2 separate regions of the Homo sapiens genome follow, and region 2 is linked to region 1. Evidence: promoter capture Hi-C in human tissues and cell types (Jung and others, 2019). All regions are on one chromosome and are shown on one strand. Each heading gives the region's core, a stretch centred on a gene start or on the middle of the fragment in contact. The rest is flanking DNA. Distances are from core to core; before and after follow the strand shown. Region 1 holds the start of RILPL1 (Rab interacting lysosomal protein like 1). Region 2 overlaps PITPNM2 (phosphatidylinositol transfer protein membrane associated 2).

Region 1 (5,042 bases), core at 850-3,349:
GACTTTTTTTTAAATAGAGACGGGGTTTTGCCATGCTGCCCAGGCTGGTCTCGAAATCTTGGGCTCAAGTGATCCTCCAGCCCTGGCCTCCCAAAGTGCTAGGATTACAAGCATGAGCCACTGTGGCCAGGAGTATTTATTTTTATTTTTTATTTTTCTGAGACAGAGTTTCGCTCTGTCGCCCAGTTTGGAGCATAGTGGTGTGATCTCAACTCACTGCAACCTCTGCCTCCCAGGCTCAAGGGATCTTCCCACCTCAGCCTCCCAAATACCTGGGACTACAGGCTCTCACCACCACGTCTGGCTAATTTTTTTATTTTACTTTTTTTTTTTTCTTTTTTTTTTTTGAGACGGAGTTTCGCTCTTGTTGCCCAAGCTGGAGTGCAGTGGCACGATCTTGGCTCACTGCAACCTCTGCCTCCCAGGCTCAAATGATTCTCGCGCCTCAGCCTCTTGAGTAGCTGGGATTACAGGCACATGCCACCATGTCTGGCTAATTTTTGTATTTTTAGTAGAGGCGTGGTTTCACCATGTTGGCCAGGCTGGTCTCGAACTCCTGAGCTCTAGAAATTTTCCCACCTCGGCCTCCCAAAGTGCTGGGATTACAGGCGTGAGCCACCCCGCCTGGCCTTAATTTTTTTTTTTTTACTATTTATTTATTTATTTATTGTATTATATTATTATTTTGAGATGGAGTCTTGCTCTGTCACCCAGCCTGCAGTGCAGTGGCGCGATTTCGGCTTGCTGCAACCTCCGCCTCCCGGGTTTAAGCAACTCTCTGCCTCAGCCTCCTGAGTAGCTGGGATTACAGGCATGCGCCACCATGCCCGGCTAATTTTTGTATTTTTAGTAGAGACGGGGTTTCACCACCTTGGCTAGGCTGGTCTTGAACTCCTGACCTCGTCCACCTCAGTCTCCCAAAGTGCTGGGATTACAGGCGTGAGCCACCGCGCCCGGCCAACTTTTAGATTTTTAATCAATACGTGCCACGTTGGGGTGCGCTTTATGGCTACAAGGGCATTAAGATTTCTTCCCTCAAGGAGCCAAGATCTGACGGTGGAAACCTACCTGCAACCACACGGTGAAAACTCAGGATGCTAAGAGCAATCCTGATGGGGCAAGCAGGGGACTGTGAGTTTGCAAGGGGGTCCTTAACTCCTGCGTGGGGGGCGGGGAGGGTGGATGGGGTTCTGGGTTCAGGAAACGTTCTCCCGGGAGTGGGAGGGGGTCTGATGGACAAGTGGATTTGGCCAGCCCAAATGGACAGGGGGCCTTGGGACAAGAGAACTCGTGGTGCTGGAATGCCAAGCGGGCTTCGCTCTACTGTGAAGTGGCGTTCATGTCACAAGGAGCCAGTGATGGATGTGGCTCGGGGAGGCGCGCCCTGGGGCTCCGGGGATCCAGCATTCCTCGACACGTCGGCCCCTCTCCGGGCGCCTCTGCAAGTCCGCCTGGTGGCCGGGTCTGCGCGGAGTGTCTGCGGGCCGGGGGGGGTCCCCGTTCTCTTCCTGGGATGAGCCCCAGCCCGGGGACCTCCTCGTGACCCCTCCATCCCTCTCCAAGGCCGGGGCCGCTACCCGGAGCAGCGAATCGTCCCGCGAGACCAGCGCCCCCGGCCCCCTCTCCCGGGGCGGCCTGGACCCCTCCCGGCGGCCGGGTGGTGGGAGGAGTCAGCGCCGGGCGGGGGAGGGGCGGCCGGGGCACGGGTGAGGGGCGCCGCGGGTCCGGCGGCTGGAGAGGGGGGCCCGGAGTGCAGGCCGCGGAGTCGGCGCTTGGGGGGGTACCCCGGGGCGCCCCCGGGCGGCGGAAAGCGGGCGCGCCCCTGGCCAGGCCGGGATTGGGGCGGGGCGCGCGGCCTCCCTGTGGGGAAGCGATCACCCGGCCTCGCAGCCGCCGCCGCCAAAGTTTCCCGGAGGAGCCGCGGGCCGCCCTTCCTCTCCGGCCCCGCGCTCTGCCGCCCCTCAGGCCCGCACCGCCCCGAGGCGCCCGGCCCGGCTCCATTGAGCGCAACTCGGATCCCAACTTGGGAGGCGCCGCGGGCCTGCGCACGCGCGCGCCCTCCCCGCTGCCGCCGCCGCCGCCGCCGCCGCCGCCGCCCACTCGGGAGCAGCTCCGGGCCGAGCCGGGCGCCCAGACCCCGGGCCCGCACACCCCGCGCCGCCGCCCGTGCCCGCGCCCGCGCCCGCCGCCCGCTGCCCGCTGCGCCCTCGCCCCAGCGCCCGCTGAGCGCGCCCGCCCGCGGCCCAGGCTGGGCCCGGCCGGCCCGGCCCTCGACAGCGGCAAGTTTGGGAGTTGCACGAGTTTGCGGGGCGGGGGACAGGCCAGGAGGGTGGCCATGGAGGAGGAGCGGGGGTCGGCGCTGGCGGCCGAGTCGGCGCTGGAGAAGAACGTGGCCGAGCTGACCGTCATGGACGTGTACGACATCGCGTCGCTTGTGGGCCACGAGTTCGAGCGGGTCATTGACCAGCACGGCTGCGAGGCCATCGCGCGCCTCATGCCCAAGGTCGTGCGCGTCCTGGAGATCCTGGAGGTGCTGGTCAGCCGCCACCACGTCGCGCCCGAGCTGGACGAGCTGCGCCTGGAGCTGGACCGCCTGCGCCTGGAGAGGATGGACCGCATCGAGAAGGAGCGCAAGCACCAGAAGGTGGGCGGCGGCCTCGGTCTGTCCGTCCGGGCAGTGGGACCGCGGGGACCCAAGGGCTCTTCCGCATTGGGCAGCTGTGGGTGCGCACGTGTGTGTGTTCAGGGACCGGACCAGAGGAGACCCGACGTGGGGAGGGAGGGAGGCCCTGGCCTTCTTTTGCCCGACCAGGGGTGGCTGGCAGATACCACCCGAGAGATTAAGAGCTGTTCTCTGGAGTTCCAATCCCACCTTTACCGTTTAATAGCTGTGTGACTTTAGGTAAGTTACTTAACCTCTCTGTGCTTTATTTCCTCACCTGTCAAATGGTAATCATAATAGGACCCACCTTAGAAGAATTAAATGGGACCATATAAGCTAAGTGCTTAGACATATTATTCTCTTCCAGACATGAAATAAGCCTCTTGGCCTCCCGAGTTACCAAGAAGATGTGACATCAGGCCCAGGACCCTTTCTTCATCCCCCCCCCCCCCAGTCTCCCCAGAGCAAAGGGAATGTGACCTCCAGCCACTGAGCTTCGTGACCCCTAGTCTTCGGGTTCATATTTGCAACTTTCTTCCCGGGACTCCCCTAGCTTATGAACCTGTGGTAGCCCGTGTTCTCTCCTCTGATTTTATCCTTAATCCTCACAGGACTCTATAGAGACTATCTTCATTTTACAGATAAAGAAACCGAGGGTCACAGTGGGAGGAGCAATTTGTCCCAAATTAGTGGTGAGAGAGTCCCAGCCCCCGTGTCTCCTCCCCACCCTGTTTGAATTGGGGGAAAGGGATGATTTGGGGTGGCTTTAAGGCTAAGCCTCTGCCCTGTGATCAGGAGTCTCTCTGAATCAGGGCCTCCCCACTGGGCCTGGAGTTCAGACGAGGTTTCTGGAGAAAAGGAAGTGAAAGACATGTGGTTTCCTGCCCTAACCTCAGCCAGGGATGCTCTTGGCAGCCCCTTCAGACTGAGAATGGGAGGAAACACCTTTCCTTGAGGGATCAGGGTGCCTGAGCAGTCTCCAGCTTGCTGTTCAGCCTCAGGAAATACAGATGGCCTCTCTGAACCTCAGGGGCAGGCCATCCCTTATTGTGTACTTTGATGGATCTCTGTGTTTTGGAGTAAAATAGCCAAAGCTGGGTCTGAACCCTTTACCTGAGGGCAGACCCACAGGTAGGTAACAGCACCATTGCCATGTTTGACTGTGCTCGTCCTCATGGGTCCCTATGCCCTAGGGGCAGGAAGGAAACTCAGGCTCCCAAGAGTTGAGCAGCATTTCCGAGGTCACTCTGGGAGCCTGAAAATGCTTTGACCTGTAATTAATTTCAAGACTCCTAGAAGCTAGGACTTTGGAGCTAGACAGCCTGGTTTCAAACCCTACCACTTGCAGGCTGTGTGATCTTGGGCAAATCACCCAGCATCTCTGTGCTTCAGTTTCCTCAGTTCTAAAATGGGATAGTAATAGTACCCCCATTAGAATGTGATGAGGTTTAAAGAGTTAATATAAATACATATAAAGTGTTCAGGACAGAGCCTGCCCATAGCAAGGGCTTTGCAAGTCTTAAAATTCTTTTTAGGCCTGGAGAGACATTCATTGAGGTGCTCACAGGCTCATATTAGGAAACCGTCCCCACCCCAAGCACCTCTACTCCTACCCTAGAGGCCTCCATCTCTCATAGAGGGTCAAGGAGGCAAGGGACCTTGGAAATTCTCTCGTGTGGCGCCTCTTATTAACAGGGACCAAGGGGCTTTGACCAGATCACACAGAAGTCCTGGCACCTATACTGTCCCCCAACTGGGGCTCTTTAGTTCTGTTGCGGGGGAGCTGGGAGAAATCCTTGGAAGCCATCGGAGGCCACCAGGTCTGAAGTCACATGGAATTGTCAGCAGCTGCACTTGTTGCCTCTGGAAAGTGTTCAGCTGGGAAGTGAACACCGTGCGCTCAGGGCCAGGGCTTGTTGACTTACATTGAGGATGACCTCTCTAAATCAAGGATGCAATTCTTTTCCCACCCCAGCCCCAGACCCGTTTACTTCACATTCTTGGGATGGAGAGAGACTTGTATGATTTTTTTTTTTTTTTCCTGCAGAGTCTCAAAGGCTCTTCAAGGTGATATTTCCACAAAAATGTTTTTGGCATGTCCTGGTTTAGTCTGTCCACCTCCATTCCTCTTCCCTTTCCCCTCTTCTTCCCTACCCCTTCTTCCTTGTCTCTCTCGCTTTCAGCAATTATGGCTCCAGTAAAGGACATACACTTTCTTCCCCCTACTCCTCCTCTCAGTAGACCCACTCACTCACTTCCACTCATCACTCAGATGCAGGCCACAGTTGTGTCATGTTCTGTCTCATTACTCAGTCTGCAACTCTGATGACAGGCCATAGCGAGCACAGTGCCCTTCTTGGTACCATGGCTCTGCAGAGAA
Region 2 (5,042 bases), core at 1,640-4,139, 390 kb after region 1:
CCACAGCAACTGTAAAGGTGTGTAGGACTTAGAGTCTAAAATCTCTGGTCATCACAATGGCCCTGCAGAACAGGTCTTCTGGTGGGAAAGGAGAGAATTGGTCCAGATATTAAAGTGGGGAACCTGGTGATGCCTTTTTCAAATCCTCTGTATCTTTGATGGAGGGTCCCAGAAGACTGGAGCTGGGAGGGCCTGCACCCTGTTGAGGATGAGAGGCAGAGGCTGGCAGAATAGAAGTGATTTGCACAAGACCTCTCTTCTAGCCTGGAACCCAAGTCCCTGATTACCGGTTTAATGCTCTTTTTTAAAAGTGACAGCCCTGTACATGGGTCCTTGTTTCCTGTGAAATGAGTATGGAGCATTGACCTCCTCACGCCCAACCTAGCAACACCAGGACAAACCTCTGCTAAACATTTATGGTCAAAGACACGACGAGTGCTGTTAGGAGGGGCAGGCTGGCATTTGCTTACTCTTTTTTTTTTTTAAACTTTTATTGTATTTTTTAAAAATTATTATTATTTTTAGATGGAATTTCGCTCTTGTTGCCCAGGCTGCAGTGCAATGATGTGATCTTGGCTCACTGCAACCTCTGCCTCCCAGATTCAAGCGATTCTCCTGCCTCAGCCTCCTGGGTAGCTGGGATTACAGGCGCCCACCACCACACCGGGCTAATTTTTGTATTTTTAGTAGAGATGGGTTTTGCCATGTTGGCCAGGCTGGTCTCGAACTCCTGACCTCCAGTGATCCGCCCACCTTGGCCTCCCAAAGTGCTGGTATTACAGACATGAGCCACCACGCCCAGCTGTTAACTTTTAAGTTCAGGGGTACAAGCACAGGTTTGTTGTGTCGGTAGACTTGTGTCATGAGGGCTTGTTATACAGATCATTTCATCACTCAGGTACTAAACCTAGTACCCATTAGTTATTTTTCCTGATCCTCTCCCTCCTCCCACCCTCCACCCTCCAATAAGTCCCAGTGTGTGTTACCCCCCTCTATGTGTCCGTGTGTTCTCACCTTTAGCTCCCACTTATAAGTAAGAACTTGTGGTGTTTGGTTTTCTGTTCTTTCATTAGTTTGCTAAGAATAATGGCCTCCAGTTTCATCCATGTTCCTGCAAAGGACATGATCTCATTCTTTTTTATGACTGTATAGTATTCTATACTATGTGTATATATACCACATTTTCTTTTCCAGTCTACCATTGATGGGGCATTTAGGTTGATTCCATGTCTTTGCTATTGTGAATAGTGCTGCAATGAACATACGTGTGCCTGTATCTTTATGATAGAACGATATTTTTAGTAGAGACGACGTCTTGCTATGTTGCCCAGACTGGTCTGGAACTCCCAGGTTCAAGCAGTCCTCTTGAGGTGTGAGCCATTGTGGCTGGCCAAATTACTTATATTAACAACTGCCCTTGCTAGAGGACACAAAGGAGATTAACCAACAGGCAGGTTTCCGGTAACAGACAAATCAAAAACCCAAGACAACCTTGGAGAGAGAGCATGGAAAAATCAGTTTCACACTCTCCTTGTTGAAGTTCCCCATTCTTCATAAAGCTTTTCCTTGAGTGCCATTGCCTCTGAAGTCCCTTATCTCTATTGTGGAAAGGGGTCTTATTAAGACCTGGCTAGTCAGAAAGATCAGAGGTCATGATCAGGGACGTCAGCGGGAGTCATGGGTCCAGGGAAAAGGCAGAGTGTTATCAGAGCAGCAGCAGGACCCAAGAGACCTCAAGGCTGATTCCAGCCTTGGAGCAGAAGCTGACAGCTCAAACTCCCTATTGGGTGTGGACATGCCAACCTGCAGCCTTAGGAGCACATGAATGTAGGGTGGAATAGCTCTGTCTGAGGAAAGTATATCCTGACTATGCATACATGTATGCATAGTTATTTGATTCATATTGTTGGCCATAGTTAGGTTCTTCTTTTTTTATTTTTTGTGACAGGGTCTCTCTCTGTCTCCCAGGCTGGAGTGCAGTGGTGCAATCATTGCTCACTGCAGCTTCAAACTCCTGGGCCCAATGATCCTCCTGCCTCAGCCTCCTGAGTAGCTGGGACTACAGACTTGTGCACCACGCTGGCTAACATAGTTATGTTCTATAAAGTCCCTCTTCAAACACTGAGTTAGTGAACACTGAACCACTGCTCCTAGGGAAAACACAGGGTTAGGCTCCTTTGAGCCTGCGGGGACAATATTTTCTTTAACCAATCCATATGTAATCTTATTTTATATATGTTTCTGTTAAAAGAGATCGGGCATGGTGGCTCATGCCTATAATCCCAGCACTTTGGGAGGCCGAGGCGGGTGGATTACCTGAGGTCAGGAGTTCGAGACCAGACTGGCCAACATGGTGAAACCCTGTGTCTACTAAAAATACAAAAATTGGCTGGGCACAGTGGCTCATGCCTGTAATCCTAGCACTTTGGGAGGCCGAGGTGGGCAGATAATGAGGTCAAGAGATCGAGACCATCCTGGCCAACATGGTGAAACCCCATCTCTACTAAAAATACAAAAATTAGCTGGGTTTGGTGGTGTCCATCTGTAATCCCAGCTACTCAGGAGGCTAAGGCAGGAGAATTGCTTGAACCCAGGAGGTGGAGGTTGCAGTGAGCCGAGATCGTGCCCCTGCACTCTGGCCTGGCGACAGAGTGAGACTCTGTCTCAAAACAACAACAAAAAAGACACCCTATTTAATATGTATCATTGATTCATTAACATTAAACTCCTGGCCATCAACACTGTGACTCATGTCTGAATGAAGCTTCTCTAACACAAGAGATTTTCTCTGCACATCATAATCATCTTGCACCCAAGAACTAGACTGCACCTCAGCACTGTGATTGGGGGCCATTCCAAACAGCAAAATCACCAACACAAAGCACACAAGTGCCAAAAATGTGGCACTGCACAGACCACAAAAAGGACACGTGTTTCCATTAGGAGAGCTGAGATGGGAAGATAGAGGATGTCCCCTCGTTCAACCTCAGCAGGGAATGTGCCATCAGGCAACTCAAATTTTTTGCCAATTTGCACAAATTTGAAAATGAATTTGAAAGCACCATGAGCATTGATTTTGGGGTTACAGATAAATTTTAGTGACTAGGGTAATTCACAAATATGGAATCCATGGATAGTGAGGATCTGCCACCTTTGGCATCATGTCAGCCCCCACGGTGTATCCAGCCTAGCTCAGGGCACCTCACAATGCTGATGGTACTTAATGGATGAAGACTGGAGCTGCGGGATGAGGCTGTGGGCAGATTCTTGTGTTTGCTTGTCTTAGGTGCTACAGAAAGACAAGCTGTCCTCCCTCAGCCCTGCTGTAGCTTCTTCTAGAAGGGCTGCTGCCAGCAGAATGGTGCCCATCTCTCTCTGCTCAAGTCTACAGGTAGGAGGGACCCTGTACTTTCATGCAGTGGGTTCTGGCGGCAGCCCTGCAATAGACTTGGCCTTTCTTAGGAGCTGAGACCAATCCTTCTCCCAAAGGAATAATCCTCTTACGGAGGTGTTTCAGGCCAAGATGGGGGGTTCCTGGGGCCCCCATGCCTCAAATTGTGGCCTTCTTATGCCTGGGCTCTCTCAGAGGAAGCTTTCCCAAGTCTTTTGCCTGTTGTGTGCCCTCTTAAGAGTTCGTACGTACGTCATACGGATTATTACTGTTTCTCCTCTGCAGAGCTGTTTATTTCCCCTTTTGAGAGGTGGCTCCTGGGGAGGGCCTGAATTTTCTCTTTTGGCAGCTGGGGGGCTTCCCTTCCAAGTCTGACTCACAGGCTGTGCTGTGGAGCAGGGCTGTGCACTTTGCTTCTGTTGTCCTCCTGGGATTAGAATCAGGCCCTTGGGCTTCCCAGCCCCCTAGGGAGGGCTCACTGGGCACCAGTGTCCTGCATGAGGTGGTGAGCCAGTGGGAGAGCTTGTTATGGGTGCTGCTGGCTCCACCCTCTGCTGTCTCTCTAGACAGCCCCTTGGAGGGAGGGATCGAGGGAGGGGGGAGGGGGATAGGGATGGGTGTGTCAGGGTAGAAATAGGTGGCTATTCCCAGCTTTCATCAGTGGCGTGAGGTTGTCTGAGAGGCAGGGCTTCCCCACAGGTGTGGATGCGTGCTTAACACTGGCTTGGCGACGGTGCTCTGGAGAACAGGAGGACATTCTTCCTCTCACACTGAAGGGCCCATTTAAGTGCTTTCCTTGGTACTTTATAACAGTTGACTTTTCACTTGCTTTTTTTTTTTTTTCATAAGAGGGAGAAAAACTCAACATTTTTTGCAATTAGAATTTTTCCCATGTGGGTAATCACACTGGAAAAAAGCATTTAAATCCTTTGAAAACCACACATAAGTGAGGCTCACGGAGCAGGGGGAACATTCAATCAGCAGGGGTGGCCAGACGTGGAGGCACTTCAGCGGGTTATCGTGTAAGGAAACAATTATTTTACATTTATTTTGGGTTTGCTTGTTGCAGCATATTTCAATTAGTTCATCAGTGTTGTGCATCTGACAGGCCAAACGTTTATTGTGGTTGAACCATCTGGGAGGTGGGAGGCCTGCAGCCTTCCCCATGGCAGTCAGGAACTACTAGTTTAAAGGAAATTTGTTTGATGTGTTTAAGAACCCAACACTAAAACACCATTAATAACAAAATCCTCAAGAATTCTGAAAGCACTCTCACCTATTTCGCCATCAGTTGGGCATGCATCACTCGAGACTTCATTCTTCCCCTAAGCGGGACATTTTCCAATACGCTGAAGCAAAGTTTTGAAGTGGCTTACTTAATTGGTCCAGAGCACGATTTGTATTAACCCAGCAAGGAAAATAGCTCACTAATTTATATTTGAGTGTGAAATAGCTTATGCATTTGCTGCTGGGAGTAGCAAGGGATGCATTTAGCGGATTCTTGCCATTAGTATGCAGCTGAGCTCCTGTCCTGTACTGTGATAGAGAGTATTAGTTTGACTTCAGTTCCCAGCCTTGGGTGACTCACCAGAGCATTGTGAGTTCACGGTAGTGACTGCTGACCGGTGCAATTTGTCGTGCACTCTTTGAA

What was found. The method cuts DNA at HindIII sites, captures the fragments that hold promoters and counts their contacts. A contact is called where the count stands out against the background at its distance.
Region 2: a fragment that was not itself captured here is called in contact with the fragment with the promoter of RILPL1 in region 1 in 1 of the 25 tissues and cell types used here (lymphoblastoid cells).

What each region holds. Positions count from the first base shown.
Region 1 is chr12:123,530,776-123,535,817 of GRCh38, reverse strand. RILPL1 (Rab interacting lysosomal protein like 1) reads left to right here and starts at 2,099. Exons shown (of 7, transcript NM_178314.5): 1 at 2,099-2,644. The coding sequence starts at 2,336. RefSeq lists silencers at 1,171-1,356, 1,376-2,065 and an enhancer at 2,281-3,098. The HindIII fragment of the contact is 25,082 bases long and covers 1-5,042 here.
Region 2 is chr12:123,142,075-123,147,116 of GRCh38, reverse strand. The region is part of intron 1 of PITPNM2 (phosphatidylinositol transfer protein membrane associated 2); the gene reads left to right. Among named protein-coding and RNA genes, the nearest start is that of PITPNM2, 6.5 kb to the left of the region's middle. The HindIII fragment of the contact is 5,243 bases long and covers 268-5,042 here.